4 separate regions of the Homo sapiens genome follow, and all the other regions are linked to region 1. Evidence: promoter capture Hi-C in 16 types of primary human blood cells and fetal thymus (Javierre and others, 2016). All regions are on one chromosome and are shown on one strand. Each heading gives the region's core, a stretch centred on a gene start or on the middle of the fragment in contact. The rest is flanking DNA. Distances are from core to core; before and after follow the strand shown. Region 1 holds the start of CDCA8 (cell division cycle associated 8). Region 2 holds the start of C1orf174 (chromosome 1 open reading frame 174). Region 3 overlaps RCC2 (regulator of chromosome condensation 2). Region 4 holds the start of RCC2 (regulator of chromosome condensation 2).

Region 1 (4,279 bases), core at 1,056-3,555:
CTGACCTCAGGTGATCCGCCCGCCTCGGTCTTCCAAAGTGCTGGGATTACAGGCGTGAGCCACCGCGCCCGGCCTGCCTCAGCTTTCTGAAGGAGACCCTGGTTTCCCCTCGGGAAGGGTAACCTGGATAGGGCAGTCTCCTGCTTCAGAGGATTCCTGGCGTCCAAGCGCCGTCTCTTCTCTGACATACAGTCCTGTCTCCCCTGCCCGAGGCTGCCGGTCGCCTTCCTGAAAAAGCGGAAAAACTTAAAAGTCCAGACAGCCAAAGCGTGAGAACCCTCCAGGGACTGCACCACGCGCCCACAGTCTCTCTGCGCATGCTCACACGCGACCTCCCCACAAAGCTACTCCGCGGGCCTGCCTGGCTACTGAGTCGCGAAAATATATCGTAGTGCCGCAATGACTTCTGGGTACTGTAGTCCAACATGTGGACTGGCCACTCGGCTTGAAGCTTCCTTGGGATTGGATGTTGGGACCGTCCAAACACGGCGACTTCTCATTTGTCAGCCTGCGGCAGTTTAAATTGGGTGGCGGTGGTGGCATGTCCTGTTAGCTGTGGAGTCTTTTCCTCTTATCTTGCGCCTCCGGTTGTGCCTTAATGACACTTTTGACATTGTGTATCACAACCAACTGGCAAAAACTAGTAAATCACGGGCTCCTGACGTGGCAGCTCTGGCTAAAATGCAGGTGGACGTCCTAGGTGCCCAGGGAGTTCGGGCTCACTGGGGAGTAGGGTGAAGGAAACCCTGAAACCGAGAGGCTGGAAGCCCGACTTGCGCAGCATAAAAACACCTGCAGGGGGAAAGCCTACATGAGGTACGGGTTGTCATCCCGTCTCATCTTGGCCATCTGACTGATGGAGATCCTCAGGCACCCAGCAGACTGGGGTGTCACCCCCACTACCCACTGCCCAGGGCTGACCTCGGGCGGAAGAGCGACATTCAAATATTTGTTGCATATGGAGCAACAGACCAGGGTGGAAGAGAGAGAAAGGACTTTCCAGGAAGGTCCAGGCTTGCCAGGACTTCTATGCTTGGACTGCTCTGTCCCCAAGCTCGCTGGTGCCCATCAGGAGCCTGCTTGGCACCTTTGCTTATTTCTTCGATTGTTCCTCAACTCAGAGGGGGAGAGGCAAGATTATCACTCCCATAGCCTATAACATGCACGCTTAAACACAACCCCTCTGACATGGCTTCAGACCGCATCCACAGGTGAAAAGCACCAAATCCAAACAATCAGGCCACAAACCCGTCAAGAGCTCGCCGGTCTGGCCGTCCAGTCGCCGCCCGCCTTGAGACTCAGCCTGAGCTACAGCTTCGAAACTAGCCTCTAGCCTTCTGGGTCTCAGCACAACTCTTGAGCAATCCAACCCTGTGGCCGTGGGCAGATACCAAGATGCACAGTTAGCACCTCCGACAGGACCGCGGCTCGGCGGGGCTCGCCGTCTACACGCCCATTCCCAGGCCCACGGCCACGACACCCAGAGCTGCCTCCTGCCCTGGGCTCCCTGGAGCCTGGTGGCCGCGGCTCATGCTGCAGTCACCGTGTGGCCAGCTGCCAAGCGCCACTACTTGCACCTGAAGTCGCAGCCCCGCGCTGCGCACCCAGTCGAGGCGCCAACACGCGAACTGGGCGGGAGTGGCCGGCCCGCGGGGGAGCGAGGAACGACAGGGTTCCCCCCACTCGCTGCCCAGACTGGCCGCGGGATAGCGCGCCCCCCCCAAAGCCTGCACCCCTGCCCTGCTCCTCTATCATTCCGTCCCCCTTGCTCTGTCAAACCCTGCCGGGGCTGCTCTGTCTCTGCCGACCCGCCACTTGCCCGAAGTTCGGCCTGAGGAGCTTGGGGCCCTGAGGAGCGCCGACGTAGGCAGCCAGCCAGTCAATCAGTCAGAGGGTCACGGCGGCCCCTCGGCTACTCAGTGGCAGCCAGGCCAGAAAGAAGCAGCCGCCAACCCTGGAGCAGAATCCTACAGCCGACCTGACCTAGTAGGCCCCCAGCCCTCCAGAGCTTGGGGTATTGCAGAGCCGCCACAAGGCCTGCCGGGAGTAGTAGTTTGTATAGTTCGCAGCCGGCCAGGGCGGAGCCGGGTGGGTTGGTGGGGAGGGCGGGGAAACAAGCCTGGACCACAACTCCCAGGAGTACCCGCGACGGCGGCGGCCTCGCTGTCGCACTCAGGCTATAGGGGGCGCATTGGGCGGAAGACCCTGGGCCGGCAGGAACTTGCTTGTGATTGGATGTTGTGGGACGGCGGCTTCTCATTCGTCAGCCTGTGACTGTGGAGTTTGAATTGGGTGGCGGTTGACTGTAGAGCCGCTCTCTCTCACTGGCACAGCGAGGTTTTGCTCAGCCCTTGTCTCGGGACCGCAGGTACGTGCCTGGCGACTTCTTCGGGTGGTCCCCGTCCGCCCTCCTCGTCCCTACCCAGTTTCTTGCTTCCCTGCCCCATCTCCGCCGCTCCCCGCAGCCTCCGCCGAGCGCCATGGCTCCTAGGAAGGGCAGTAGTCGGGTGGCCAAGACCAACTCCTTACGGAGGCGGAAGCTCGCCTCCTTTCTGAAAGACTTCGACCGTGAAGGTAAGGGGCCAGGCCGTCGCGGCCTCCTGGGGCGGTCGCGGGATGCTGGCGGGTGGGGACACGAGCTGCACAGATTCGCCCGCCCGTGACCCGTGTCCTGTCGGCTCTGCCCTCCCGCAGTGGAAATACGAATCAAGCAAATTGAGTCAGACAGGCAGAACCTCCTCAAGGAGGTGGATAACCTCTACAACATCGAGATCCTGCGGCTCCCCAAGGCTCTGCGCGAGATGAACTGGCTTGACTACTTCGGTAAGAGCTGGAGAGCTTCCCTGGGCGGAGGCCAGGAGCCCCTTGGGGTTAGGTGACACCCTTCAGAAAGGGCTCGCTCAGATGTCACCTTTTAATGAGATCTGACATGACCACTTATGGAAAATTGCAGACCCTTTCACTCTCTGTCTCACTTCCCTACTTCATTTTTCTCTATGAAAAATGGGGGGGTGGTTGGGGGGCGGCGGGCGGGGCGGTCTCTGTCGGACAACTCAGCTCTGCTGTTTACAGGTCCAAAACAGCTGTAGTGAATGGGCATGGATGGGCTGTATTCCAATAAAATTTTAGTTATGGATACACTGAAATGTGAATTTCACATAATTTTCACACATCAGGAAATTTATTTAATTTTTTTTAAACAGAGTCTCACTCTGTCACCCAGGCTGGAGTGCAGTGCAGTGCAGTGGTGCGATCCCTGCTCACTGCAACCTCCACCTTCTGGGTTCAAGTGATTCTCCTGCCTCAGCCTCTGGAGTGGCTGGGATTACGGTCGCCTGCCACCATGCCCCGCTGATTTTTGTATTTTCAGTAGAGACGGGGTTTCACCATGTTGGCCAGGCTGGTCTCGAACTCCTGACCTCAAGTGATCCACCTACATAGGCCTCCCAAAGTGCTGGGATTACAGGAGTCAGCCACTGCGCCCGGCCAGAAAATAGTATTTTTAAAAATATATGTATATTTTACCCATTTAAAAATGAATGAATAAATGACATGGTTAGTTAACCAGAGCTCAGATAGAAGAATAACCCGAAGCAGCTCCTTCTGCAGCTTATGGAAATTGCTAACCTAAAAATGGGCGCATCAGGCTGGGCGTGGTGGCTCACGCCTGTAATCCCAGCACTTTGGGAGGCTGAGGCGGGCAGATGACCTGAGGTCAGGAGTTCGAGACCAGCCTGACCAACATGGAGAAACCCTGTCTCTACTAAAAATACAAAAAAGTTAGCCGGGCGTGGTGGCGCATACCTCTAATCCCAGCTACTCTGGAGGCTGAGGCAGGACAATCGCTTGAACCTGGGAGGCAGAGGTTGCGGTGAGCTGAGAGCACGCCATTGCACTCCAGCCTGGGCAACAAGAGTGAAACTCCGTCTCAAAAAAAAAGACACATCAGTTTTCCTGGCCAGAGAAAAATCCCAGCCTGTTTCTGCACTCCCTTATTAAATGTCCGGAGAAATGCAGGAGGCTGTACTTTTCTGCTGGGTTGCCCTTTTCTGTTTTCCTTATTATTAACTATCCAGCATGTAGTCTCCTTCCTGGATAGAAATGCATGGTCTGCTCACATATTAGACATTGAATGATCCTTTTGACTTGCCCTTTTATTTATTAAGCCATTCATTTGCTTATTTCTCCAAATACTGAGCATGTGTCAGTCACAGTGCTAGGTGCTAAAGATGCACTAGGGAATAAAACAGACATTGTCTCTGCCTTCAGGAACATACAG
Region 2 (4,279 bases), core at 1,002-3,501, about 34 Mb before region 1:
CAGACACATCACTGTAAAAATACAAAGATCAAAGGCAAAATCTTGAAAGAGAACAAAACCTTGAAAGCCCCAAGAAGAAAGCCACTTAGAAGGGAACCTCAATAAATGAACTGACTGAAACAATGGAGAATATTCAAACATATTCAACATGCTCAAATAAACTTGTCAACCAAGAATCCTATATCCAGCAAAGCTATACTTCAAAAATGGGCTGGGCATGGTGGCTCATGCCTGTAATCCCACCACTTTGGGAGGCTGAGGCAGTGATCACCTGAGGTCAGGAGTTTTAGACCAGCCTCGCCAACATGGTGAAAACCTGTCTCCAGTAAAAACACAAAAATTAGCCGGGCGTAGTGGCAGCCTCCTGTAATCCCAGCCATTCCAGAGGCTGAGGTGAGAATCACTTGAACCCGGGAGGCAGAGGTTGCAGTGGGCCGAGATCACACCTCTGCACTCCAGCCTGGGCAACAGAGTGAGACTCTGGTCTCAAAGCAAAAACAACAACAACAACAACAACAACAACAACAACAACAAAACTCACTTTACAAGAAACACTAAAAGAAGTTCATCAGGCTGAAAGCAAGTGACCCCAGACAGTAATTCAAAACCACACACACACAAAAACAGCACCAGTAAAGGTAATTATGTTCTTATATAGTTTAAATGCCTATTCCTCTACCTCCTTCTCTTAATTTAAAAAGCAATTGTATACAGTAATATGTGTATAATATATACAGACATGTACTATATTTGCCAATAACAAAACAAAGTGGGTGAAAGCAAACCCCTGCTGGCTAAGGAAATGACCACAGACAGAAAGTAATAATGATAACACAGTACTGTTGAGTTTGTAACATTATCAGATGTAATACATATAACAAAATACCACAAAAATAACCATATAAGAGTAACATTTCTGTATCACTTGGAATTAACCTAGTACAAATCTGAAGCTTAAGATGTATATGGAGAATATGAAGATTAAGCTGTATACGGTAAAACATAAAGCACTGGAAAAAACCCAAAAAAGTTGTGGAAAAAAAATCATTAAATTAAAATGCTACATTAGGAAATATTCACTTTAATCCACTTAAAGAAGGAACAGGGGAAGAAAAAGACAGACTTGTATAAAGAAAAGAAAAAGTAAAATGGCAAATGTAAACCTAACTACAGTGTATCAATAATATTAAATGTGCATGGGCTAAACAATTCAATCAAAAGGCAGAAACTACCAGACTGCATTTTAAAAAAGATCCAAGTATATGTGCCTACAGGAGACAAGTTTTGGTTCAAAGATAAAAATAGTAAAAGGAGTTGGAATTCACAAGTGGCCACTCCATTTGAACAAACCAGGAGAGCCTCCATGCAGCTCAGAGCCTCCCAAGTGGACCGGGACCCGCGCCGGGTCCACTGTGAAAAGGGTCCTTCGCCTTAACTGTTACACCCACGCAATGAGCACTTGCCCCTTGCCAGACACTGGCACCCCCCTTCAATCCTCACCACCCTCTTGGTGGATCCCTCATCACCCCACTTTTAGCACATTCAGTAGATGGGGCCAAGCTGAGGTCACTTGCTGTGTGACGTCCATTGGAGTGGCAGCAGTTGAGGGGCACAAACTCAGCTCTGCAGCATCTAGCACTACCAGGAGTTGAAACCAGTTCTGGAGAGGGTGCCCCACCTTCCTAGGAAAGTGGCCCGAAACCTCCCTTCAAGGGGGCGTGACCTGGGAGCCCCCTGTTGCCCAGGACGTGAACTGTGAGCTCCACTTCTCCCGAGGGCGTGGACCGGAGCCCCCCTTCTCCCGCGGGCATGGCCTGGGAGCTCCCCTTCTCTCGGGGGTGTGGCCCAGAGGCCCCATTCTGCGGGGGTGGGTAACCTGGGAGCCCCCTTCTCCCGGGGACGTGACCTGTGAGCTCCACTTCTTCCGAGGGCGTGGCCCGGAGCCCCCTTTTCACAGGGGCGTGACCTGGCAGCCCTCCTTCTCCCGGGAGCGTGGCCTGGAGCCCCCCAACTACTGCCGGGGGCGAGGCCCAAGCGGAGGCCGCTCCTAGGCCACAGGCACCCCGTGACCCCGCCCCGGTTCTCCAGACAGCAGGTGACCCAGAGTCCCCGCCCTGCCCGGCGCAGCTGCTGCCGGGACCCAGCCCTCACCTTCCGGCTCCTCATGAGTGTGAGCACCGCAGCCAAGCACCGCGCGCCCCGGCCAACGCGTCCCGGCGGAGCGGCGACCCGGAGTCTGCAGAGCGCGCCGCGGCGGCGTCCGACGTCAGCACAGCCAATCACAGTGCAGCACCCTCGTCATGTGATTCCCCCCCCCCCCCCCCCCGTGTTGGCTCTTTCGTAAGCGGCGGGCGAAGGTCACAGGCCTTGGGCCAGTGGTGGGACACTGGAGCAGGAAGTCGGCCTGTGGCCGGCCATGTTCATGAGGGCGCGTCCCTTGGCACCCCTGTAGCCGCTATGTTTCCCACGCCCGTGGCAGGCCTGAGAGATTATGTTTGCGGGGGGTGCTTTTTTTGTAGCTTCTGTGTTCGCCATATTTGAAAGGGGCAGACGGCCATGTTCGTGAACGGCGCTTCCCTTGGTGCACCTGTGGCCGCCATGTTTGAGCGAGGTGGGCAACTATGTTCTTGAGGGGGGAGCAACCATGTTCTTGAGGGGCTCTTCCCTTGAAGCCTCTTTGGCCACCATGTTTGAGAGGGGCAGACGGCCATGTTTGTAAGGGGCGCTTCTCTTGGTGCGCCTGTGGCCGCTATGTTTGAGAGGGGCAGGCAACCATGTTCGTGAGGGGCGCTTCCCTTGAAGCCTCTTTGGCGCCATGTATGAGAGGGGCGGACGGCCATGTTTGTGAGGGGCTCTTCCTTTGGTGCGCCTGTGGCCGCCATGTTTGAGAGGGGCGGGCGGGACGTCCGTGAGGGGCCCCTCCCCTTGCATCCCCTGGCTAACAGCCTGCAGGAGGGCGGGAAGTGCTTTCTCCAGTGCCGCAGAGCGCTGGTTTCTGAGTGCCGGTTAGCGGCCTTGAGCAGCGCGAGGGACTCCCAGGCCTGCCCGTGCTGCGGTCCCGCTGGGGAGCTTTGCGCGCTTGTCGCAGGCTGTGCTGCCCCGCGACATGCCGCTTTGGGTTGGGGTGGCCCGCCCGGGAAGTGGCCTCAGCTGTCCCCCACGTTGCGGGCGGGAGGGGGCCTTAGTGGAGGCCGTCGGTGGGCCCAGGAGGCCAGGGTCCGGCGTCGGGCTGGGGGCCGGTTTTCGTCCCCCGTTACGTGCAAGGCGGGAAATGACCCCTCCGCCGTCCCGTTACTCTCCGGGGCCAACGTGGACTCGCAGGGGCCACGCCTTTTCCAATGGCCACGCCCCTAGCAGGCCTGGGTGGACCCGCAGCGGCCACGCCTCCTCCAATGGCCGCGCCCTATCAGGTCTGGATGGACACACGGCGGCCACGCCTCCTCCAGCAAACACGCCCCTAGCAGGCCTGGGCTGCTGTGATGCGTCCTCTTTGGCCGCCGCTGAGGGAGGTGTTTGTAAAGCTGAGGACCACTGTTCTGTTGTGGGTTTTTTTGTTTGTTTGTTTGTTTTTTGAGACGGAGTCTCGCTCTGTCACCCAGGCTGGAGTGCAGTGGCGCGATCTCAGCTCACTGCAACCTCCGCCTCATGGGCTCAAGCCATTCTCCTGCCTCAGCCTCCTGAGTAGCTGGGATTACAGGCAGGCGCCACCACACCTGGCTAATTTTTGTATTTTTAGTAGAGATGGGGTTTCATCATGTTGGTCAGGCTGGTCTCGAACTCCTGACCTCAAATAATCCGCCCACCTTGGCCTCCCAAAGTGCTGGGATTACAGGCGTGAGCCACCGTGCCAGGCCCACTGTTCTTTTCTTTTCTTTTTTTTTTTTGACGGGAGTCTCGCTATGTCGCCCAGGCTGGAGTGGAGTGACGCAATCTCGGCTCACTGCAAGCTCTGCCTCCCGGGTTCACGCCATTCTCCTGCCTCAGCCTCCCGAGTAGCTGGGACTACAGGCTCCCGCCACCACACCCGGCTAATTTTTTTGTATTTTTAGTAGAGACGGGGTTTCACCGTGTTAGCTAGGATGATCTCGATCTCCTGACCTCGTGGTCCGCCTGCTGCGGCCTCCCAAAATGCTGGGATTACAGGCGTGAGCCACCGCGCTCGGCACACTGTTCTGTTCTTAAGAATTTCAACATAGAAATGAAATCCAGCCTTGCCTTAAACCCTCCAGCCCTCAAGTTCTCTGGGCTCTAGGATGTGTGTCTTCAGAAAAGGGCGCAG
Region 3 (4,279 bases), core at 952-3,451, about 20 Mb before region 1:
CAAACGGAAGTTTAATAAACTCAGTAATTCTGAAGGCAAAAGCTGAAGGCATTTCTAGAACACAAAGCTTAGAAGATATGTAAAGAAGCACCCTCAGACCCCCACCCTCCCAGCACAGAGCAGTTCAAAGCCTAGCCACTGTCTCTTTAAGATCAATAAAACCAAGTCCCTCCCTTCCTTCATCACCTAGACCACTAATTAGGCACTTAGCATTCTTCTGCCTTTAGTAGTAGTTTGTTTTTAAGGTATAAATCTCACCCCTCCAACTCAAGTTTCTTAGAAAAAAAAAGACTGCCTATCTCCTGGGCGCGGTGGCTCACACCCAGCACTTTGGGAGGCCGAGGCAGGCAGATCAGGAAGTCAAGAGATGGAGACCATCCTGGCCAACATGGTGAAACCCCATCTCTACTAAAAATACAAAAATTAGCCAGGCGTGGTGGAGCATGCCTGTAGTCCCAGCTACTCGGGAGGCTGAGGCAGGAGAATCGCTTGAATCCGGGAGGCAGAGGTTGCAGTGAGCTGAGATCGCGCCACTGCACTCTAGCCTGGCAACAGAGCGAGACTCTGTCTCCCCTCCAAAAAAAAAAGACTGCCTATCTCGTATTTGTATTCTAAGCATCTGGCTGGTGACTTTATACAAGGTCAAAACAAAGTATTTGGGGGAAGTACAATTACATCCATATAACATCACTCACTTTCTTTGGAACAGAACAGGCTTACGACAAGGCATTTCTAACAGATTTCTCCATTTGGAAACAAAATGTTTTCAGGATGGTTTTCAACCCGACCACAAACTAAGCCTGTTTTAAAAACTATAGCAAGGCTGTGTGCAGTGGCTCACACCTGTAATCCCAGTACTTTGGGAGGCCGAGGTGGGTGGATCACCTGAGGTCAGGAGTTCCAGACCAGCCTGACCAACATGGAGAAACCCCGTCTCTACTAAAAATACAAAATTAGCCAGGTGTGGTGGCACATGCCTGTAATCCCAGCTACTCCAGAGGCTGAGGCCGGGGAATCACTTGAACCCGGGAGGCGGAGGTTGCAGTGAGCCGAGATTGCGCCATTGCACTCCAGCCTGGGCAAAAAGAGTGAAACTCCGTTCTCAAAAAAAAACAAAAAACAAAAAAACAAACAAAAAAACTCTACAGCATGTAACTAAACATCCAGACCCTGTTTTTACAAGGGGTAAATTAACTCAAACGGAGACCCCACCTTAGAAAATCAAACACAAAAGTAAAGAGAAACAAAAAGCCATGGAGCCGGAGCTGAGGAGGGGTCACCTGCGCGGGGCTGGGAACAGCGTCTGTCTGGTTGCCAAGGCCCAGCTGCCCCATCTTGTTTTCCCCAAACGCAAACACGGAGCCCGTTTCTGGAAGAAAGGAAAAATATCACAAAAGGGAAGATAATGGTGAATGTTTTGAACTAGATTTAGAATCAAAGGCATCAAAATAATAAAAACAGCTCATTTGCCAGGCAGAAGGCAAGTGAGACTGCCCAAAAGCTGGCAGTGCAGACGCTTCACAGCAAAGCCATTTCACATCAGAAACTGGGTGTGCAGAGAAACAGAGGGCAGCGTCTCCTACTCCCAGATGGGCCTCCTATGGCCACTGGGGAGGCTCCCAATGCCCTCAAGAAGCCACTCCATGCCAAGGTTCTCAGGGCCTCTTTCTGATCCTGACCAAGAGTCACAAGGGGAACTCCACCACCCCACGCCCCATCCCCAAGGCAGACCACCTGGCCTCTTGCCAAACTGAGAGGAGACACCAGCAGCCACCTCCTTACCCGTCAAGGCCAAGGTGTGGTTCCGCCCACATGCTGCAGACACAATCACTTCGTGGCTAAGACCCTCGATGAGTCTAGGGGCTTCTACTCTCTTGGTGTCACCATGTCCCAGCTGCCCCTTCTCATTTCGACCTGCAGATCACATGAGAGAAAGTAGAAAAGAGAGAGGGTGGTCCAGGCGGCACCACCAGGAGAAGGCGAGTACAAACACACTCTCAAATGATGCCCATCTGTCTCTGGAAGGTACCCTCCAAATTCCCAACAGCCAAGATCCAGAGCAAAGAACGCCCCGGCCCTCTGCCCGCTGGAATGGCGCCTGCTGCAGCTCCCCGGACCTCCTTCCCTGGGGCAGCAGCGGGACCACCCGTGCACACCTCCCACGTCTCTGCTACAAAGGGAAATGAGAGGCTCAGTGTGGTAGGGACACCATGCACAGGCGGGCATGCTCGCAGAAACACGCCGTTCCCACTTAGAGTGCCTGCAAGACAACCACCCCGTCCCTACCCTCTGAGATGTATTTTAAGACAGCACCCCATTTTGACACCTGGCTCACCAGAGTTTAATCACTTTGGTGCTCTGGGCATCCACTGAGGACCATTTGGTGTCTGCCCAATATTTCTCTTCCTTTTTCTACCCTGTAAATGGTGCTCACATAACAGTGCCAATCCCACCCCTAGGGATCGCCCCTCAAGGACTCTCAGCCACAGGAACCCTGGTGACAAAGCACAGATCCACCCTCAACACAACACGCCCAGCCCCACCTCCAGGACTGCTGCAGGTGCGACCAAGGCCCTGTATCTGTGAATTCCAGCGGAAGGCAGGCCTGAGGGCCAACCCCTACCCCCAAGTCCTCTGCAGAACCAAATTCAACTCCAAACAGACGTGGAAGTTGGGTGGGCCAAAAGGAGGGCTGGGAGCCCCTACACCGCATCTAGGTTTCAACACAAACTACCAAGTTCCAAAACAAAAATTCAACCGGCCACTCTCGGATCCCTCCCGATAAGAGAAAAACCACACATGTAACCTGACGTGGGGAAACTGACGGAGATCTTACAGTGGTGAGAAGTCAGGGCAATTCTAGGGGGTTTTGCAACCTTCTCCAGCAATGAACTTTTCACCCTTAGGTTGTGATAAAGGCAGACAGCAGAGCCATTAAGATGAGTTCCAGCTGTCCTGGAGAAGGCTTGCAGGAGCAGCCTCTGACTACAGAAGGAATTGCGACGAAGGGAAACCAGCCTCTGACTCGCTCTAATTAAAGAACGGCGGGCTGAAGGGCCAGCACTGGCACTCGAGCAGGAGAGGCAGATACACCAGCTTCCAATGGGAGCTGCCCAAGTTCATGTGAAAGGCATGTGAATACAGAGCAACAAGTGCAAGTCTCAGTGGACTGAGATGCGGCAGGACAGGGTGAGCGGGCCACAGATGGAGACCCCACATGAGCAATGCGTCAGCCACCCTCCCGTGGTACTCTACTCACACCAGACGCCGCCCCCTGCCTTCTAGAGTGGCGAGCAGTGGGCCTGTGACACCTTCCAACCCTGTCCTCACCAACTGCACTGTCTGCTCGGGGATCACACGTCTTGATGGCGGGACATACATTGTCCCTGCCCACAGGGTCAGAACTGAGGGCGCTTTCAGAGCCACCACGCAAGTGAAGCTCAGCGAGAGATCAGAACTGAGGTATTTTAAGTTTGGAACACTGACATAAAAGGCTGTGTTCAGTGTTGGAACACAAAGTAGGAGGGGTGCTCTGGGGGAAGGGACACACATCTATGCCAACCGGGAGAAAACAAAAACTGTGGCAATGTCAGCATGTCATCAAGAGACTATAAAGTATAAATTTGGGCCAGACACACTTTAGCTTTTTTCAACAGAATTACAAAATTAGCCATGTGCAGGGAAGACAACAGATGTTAATATATTTGGACTTTGGTACAGCAGCTCATGAAATCACAAAAAACGGTTCAAACAGCCCAAAATAAAAATGCAGTCATATGGACTAAAAGCTAGCCAGAGGACCAGCGACAAAGGGTGGGGACAAACGCCAATATGCCCCGCTGGAGGCAGAGGCCGGGAGTCACCAAAAGGGCTGGGGATAAAATGAGCCTTAGCCCATACCCTATGATTGGAATGATCTGGAAGAGGACACGGGCAGGAATGGGCCGGCCGGCTGCAGAGGACAGTGCCGTGGACAGAGGCTAACAGAAGAACTGGAACCCATCCCGAGTGCCCAGGTGAGGAAAAACAGAAGGGAAAGCCGAACAACTCCAAAAAAGCAAACTGAAGTATCTGGGGAAATATCCTAAGAAGCAGACAACACGGACAGTGAGCTGCCAAGCCTGCAGACCAGACTTGGGCAGACCTCAGACACGAGGGCCATGGCGGCAGGGACGCAGCATCCTATGACATGAGGCGGGAGGTAGAAAAGCCAGTGGCATTTCAAGTGGCAGCAACAGAGGTCTCATGTCATATCGTGCCTCAAAGAGGAAGGAAACTG
Region 4 (4,279 bases), core at 569-3,068, about 20 Mb before region 1:
GCGAACTTACCGAGGTCCCCTTTCCCGGGGCGGGGGGGGAGGGGCGCAGAGGGAGCTGTGGGGGCGGGGCCATGACCCCCTCGTGCGGGCTTCGGCCGCCCCTCCCCCGCCGCGGGCCCGGGCGCGCGCCCCAACCGCCAACCGCCCGCGCGGTGCCCGGGGTCGGGTAGGCCGCGGGCCGCGCGCCCCGTACCGAGCCCTTTTGTTGCGCGGAGGCGGAGGCAATGATTCAGCCCGCGGCCTGCGCCGGCCCGGCCGCCGGGAGGGAGCGTGACGCGAGGCGGCCCCCGGCTGGAACGCGCGCCGTGCCGCGTCGCTGAGCCCGCCGGCCCCGGCCCTGCGCCCACCCGTCTACCCTGACCCTCACTCACGACGCGCTCCTTGGTGTGCTCGGGTTCGGTGATGACCACGGCCGCGCCGCCCGCCTTGCCTGCTGTCGCCGGCCGCGCCGCGCGCTTGCCCCCGCCGGGGGCCCCGTCGAGCTCCAGGCCGTCCTCGTCGCCGCTGCTGCCGCCGCCGCTGCTGCTACTGCAGCGCTCGGGCCGCTCGCGCTTCCTGCCCGCCGGGCCGCCGCGTTTCCTGGGCCCGGCGCGGGCAGTGCCGTTGCCCGAGCTCGGCTCCTCCCAGGCCGCCGCCGCCGCCTTCTTCCTGGGCATGGTCGCGGCTGGAGGGAGACACGGGGCAGCGGCGCACAATGGACGGGTTATAAACTGCGCGGGGGGAGGGGAGCGGAGACGAGCCACCCGGCCTCCACTTCCTCCTCTGCCCTCCCCAAAGTGGCGGCCGCAGGGTGGGCGGAGAGGGGGCGAGTTGGGAGAGGAAATCGCGCCCCTCCCTGGCCCCGGCGCGGCTCCTTCGGGGAATCCCGCAGGGCAGCCGGGAGCCCCAGAGGCAATCCCCTGGAGGGAGAATTGAGACCCCCGGCCTATCCGTAAGTTAGGTTTGCCCACAAAGCATCACAGTTGCAACCTCGCCCCCCAAAAGTAAAGGGAAAGTAAAACCAGCCTCCAGTCCCCTAGATTTTCATTAAAGAAGGCTTCGGGACACTTCCAGGATTCCCCCTTGGCACCTGGGTGGTAAGGGAGCCCCTGCTCCCCGGCTACCCCACCTGCTGCTTTTGTCTCCGCAGTCTCCCCCCAAACCCACTCATGGCATTTAATGCAACGCTCTCCCCCACCCCGCATCAGCCCTGGACCCCCGTTCGGCCCCAGCTCAGGGGTGCCGACCTCGGGCTCTAGTTAGCCGAATCCCTACGGCGGACTGCCCCCGGCGACGGGGGAAGAGCCCGAAGAAAGCTGGACCCCAGCCCCAAACACCTGCTCGCACAGACACGAAAAATAAAAACTTTAATGGTGCCCAACTCTCTCCCAGCCCCCTTGCCGGCCGTGCGGCCCGGCCGGTCTCCGATTCGACTGCAAAGTGTCCAGGGCCGCCGCCAGCTCCCCGGCGTCCCTGCGCTCTCCCCTGTCTGCTTTTTTTTTTTTTTTTAATTGATTTTGAACAATGGGATCTCTGTCTGTCTCCGATTAAACCACGTGGATCCGCCTTCCTTCCTCTTTTTATTCCTTCAATCACCCAGCCCCCCTCCCCCAGGTTTTTTTTTAACCTTTTCTCTTTAAAAAAAGGAAAAAAAAAAAAACTTTCCCAGACCCCACAAACTGATCACTGTCGATTTTCAGACCCTACCTGGTTGGAGTGATGAGAAACCGGAGAGAAAAAAGGAAGAGAAGCAACTAAAAGACGGATCGGAGGGCTTTTTTTTTTCCGGCCCAGACGAGGGCTCCAGCCCACTCACCAGATACACTTAAAATGTAAATACGAGCTTCCAGAACAAATGCTACAACACAAAACAGAAACACATGTGCGGCCGCGCGGCAAGCGAGCGCGCGGCGGGGCGGGAGGCGCGGGGCGCGGGGCGCGCGCGCCCCCTGCCGGCCGGCGGACCCGTTGCCGGCGCCCCCGCCCCGCCCGGCCTGGCCCTGCCCTGCCCACCCGAGCCTGCGCCGCGCGCCGCGCGCCTCGCCGCCCGCCTCGGCTCCGCTGCTCCTGCGCCTTTCGCGGGCCCGCGAGCGCGCTTTGGGCCTTCCACGCAGTGCGGCCTGCGCGTCAGGGACTTCTTTGCGGCTTAGGAGGATGTTGGATTGTTTTTCCTGGGCACGTCTAGACAGGTCACATGAGGACACTCGCTGGAAAATAGTTACTTCGCTCACGCAGCAGCCAACAAGGGACGTGCCCTAATTGAGTGATTGGAATGAAAGATGAATACAATTTGAATAATTTTTTCCTGTGCAGAGAGAAGCTGAGTTTTATTTGCCTGTGGATGTGTCCTCAGTATGTAACAAGGTGCTGTGACACGGAAGAATCACATAAAGGTTTGCTGTATTAGTGAATTAATTCATAATTAATTTGAGGGCCGTGGAGGCACTGGAAGCTGGCTTTGAGGGGAACTTTTTCATTTTTTGCCAAATATTTACTGAGCCCCCGGTACATGCAAGACCCACAGTGCCCGGGGCTGCAGAGCCAGTGAACAAGGTTTCCACCCCAGTGGAACGCACAGCCTAACGGAAAGACAGATCAGTAAACAAGTAATTACAACAGTGGTAAGCTTTACAAAGTGATGCCTGTGTAGGAACATTATGGCGAGGGGATTTATCCTAGTCCAGGGCCAGGGAAGGCATTCAGGTGGAAAGTTATGCTGAACAACTTAAAGGATGAATAAGACCCGATGAAAGGGGGCAGGAAAAGTATTCCAGGCCAGGTGGAGTGAACGGGACGCTCCACATTTCGAGATCTTGAGAGACACCTCCTGGGAGGGAAGCTGTCTGGTGGGGCTGGGGTGAGAAGAGCCAAGAGGCTGGGTTCTGAGGAGGTAGGCAGGGGTGCGAGGGCCTGCATAGACCCTAGTGAACCGCAGTGAGGCTTGATCTCGTTCGCGTGTCCTGGGACGGGTGAAAAAAGCCTTGCTTGCTTCCTACCGGTCTCCACCCTCCACCTCTCCACCCCACTTCCATTACGATCTCACCGTCACTTGCTCTCCTCTCAAAGCTTTTCTCCTGCTTCTTTTTTCCTGAGGCGTACCGCACAAGGAAGTTCCTTCTTCAGGCAACTTCTTGAAAACGCATAAAGTTCTAGGATTTTTGTGATTCATTCATTCATTGTTAGTGCAAGAAACAGGACTGGGAAGCATCAAGTGTCCTGTAAAGGAAGACAGAGAAACCAAGAGGCCCAAATCTAAGGTATTTGATCAAAGTCAAAAGTCTGTGTGTCAAGAGAGCTGAGAGTGCTTATGTAAAAGAACTTTGGAAATGAGAAATCAACTGGTACGTTTCAGAGATTTTCAGAAAAGTCAAGATGGAATAGAAGCACCCTTTGAAAGCCTATTCTTAATAGACCTGCATTTAAAAAGATTTTTTAGAGGTTAAACTTTGACGCTTTGATATAAAGCATAAGTAGAACCAACCAGAAAAGAATTTCGCCTAAATATGCCATCAAGTCCCCTTCAGGAAATGGCATGCTGATGCTTGTCAGCCGAGGCGGGTGGCTGGGTGTTTATCCTCTAAACACCCTGTGTGGCCAATTAGGAACACCACTGACAGTACCTTTAGATTTCAGTCTGCAAGTCTTTTCCTTTTTTCTCCTGCCCCTTTATAATGCTTTTTGCCAGCTTAAAAGACTCATGCCTCAGACACACTGATGCAATGAGACGCTAATATCATATTGCATCATCTGATCCTAGGTGTGGTGCTCCTGAAACTGGTTTTTCTTGAGGTTATGCTGCAGTAGAAAAGCACTTTGGGTATAACACCCTGGAACTGGCCCTACTTGTCAGAAGACAAAAGTAATTTTTGCAACTCCATGCCTCAATTCCACACCACTATTCTCCCAGGGAAAGCCTGCGTGACTCTCCCGGCTGGAATTGGGTGTGCAACAGACATTCATCAGTTAGGCGTGTCATGCTGCCACTTATGTAACAAATGTTACATAGTGAGGTGCACCTACAGGCAAGCTGAAAATGACACTTCCTCCTTCAAACTGTGCTTGGAATTTCACCTCGCTTCTAATTGAGCAAATTCTCCAGGGACAGGATGGTTTGGTGCAAAACCGGGAGAGGGGAAGGGAAAGAAGGTGGCTGAGATTTCTCTGACACTTTGAGGCACAGGTGTCTGGCACTGTGCTGAGCATTTTACACCCAGAATTTTGGAAATGTGGCTGCAAGTGCCAGCCTGCCGTCACTCTTTAACCTCATCTTCAGCAAAATCATATTGCAAGTTAGATTCAG

Evidence for each region. Contacts are between HindIII fragments. The CHiCAGO score rates a contact against its expected background, and 5 or more counts as called.
Region 2: the fragment with the promoter of C1orf174 here is called in contact with the fragment with the promoter of CDCA8 in region 1 in 11 of 17 cell types (non-activated CD4 T cells, fetal thymus, naive CD4 T cells and 8 more); the score reaches 31.4 in non-activated CD4 T cells.
Region 3: a fragment that was not itself captured here is called in contact with the fragment with the promoter of CDCA8 in region 1 in 1 of 17 cell types (non-activated CD4 T cells); the score reaches 6.1 in non-activated CD4 T cells.
Region 4: a contact is called between the fragment with the promoter of RCC2 here and the fragment with the promoter of CDCA8 in region 1, in 2 of 17 cell types (naive CD8 T cells and non-activated CD4 T cells). The highest score is 5.6, in naive CD8 T cells.

Annotation. Positions count from the first base shown.
Region 1 is chr1:37,690,211-37,694,489 of GRCh38, forward strand. It overlaps CDCA8 (cell division cycle associated 8), which reads left to right and starts at 2,306. Exons shown (of 10, transcript NM_001256875.2): 1 at 2,306-2,574; 2 at 2,695-2,823. The coding sequence starts at 2,481. It overlaps AIRIM (AFG2 interacting ribosome maturation factor), which reads right to left and starts at 319. Exons shown (of 5, transcript NM_001350770.2): 1 at 1-319. RefSeq lists enhancers at 1,047-1,557, 1,558-2,067, 1,840-2,029, 2,068-2,578, 2,579-3,087 and 1 more and silencers at 1,360-1,419, 1,440-1,609. The HindIII fragment of the contact is 4,527 bases long and covers 450-4,279 here.
Region 2 is chr1:3,898,021-3,902,299 of GRCh38, forward strand. It overlaps C1orf174 (chromosome 1 open reading frame 174), which reads right to left and starts at 2,252. Exons shown (of 4, transcript NM_207356.3): 1 at 2,152-2,252. The coding sequence starts at 2,166. LINC01134 (long intergenic non-protein coding RNA 1134) reads left to right here and starts at 2,384. Exons shown (of 4, transcript NR_024455.1): 1 at 2,384-2,611. RefSeq lists enhancers at 1,344-1,914, 1,915-2,483, 2,484-3,053, 2,693-2,952 and silencers at 2,003-2,072, 3,153-3,332. The HindIII fragment of the contact is 4,148 bases long and covers 952-4,279 here.
Region 3 is chr1:17,420,923-17,425,201 of GRCh38, forward strand. It overlaps RCC2 (regulator of chromosome condensation 2), which reads right to left. Exons shown (of 13, transcript NM_018715.4): 5 at 1,783-1,914; 6 at 1,281-1,369. Among named protein-coding and RNA genes, the nearest start is that of RCC2, 17 kb to the right of the region's middle. RefSeq lists an enhancer at 1,129-1,883. The HindIII fragment of the contact is 4,272 bases long and covers 66-4,279 here.
Region 4 is chr1:17,437,859-17,442,137 of GRCh38, forward strand. It overlaps RCC2 (regulator of chromosome condensation 2), which reads right to left and starts at 1,819. Exons shown (of 13, transcript NM_018715.4): 1 at 1,687-1,819; 2 at 372-664. The coding sequence starts at 656. LOC124903862 (a long non-coding RNA gene) reads right to left here and starts at 3,685. Exons shown (of 2, transcript XR_007065508.1): 1 at 3,600-3,685; 2 at 2,278-3,195. RefSeq lists silencers at 500-599, 1,919-2,058. The HindIII fragment of the contact is 15,202 bases long and covers 1-2,603 here.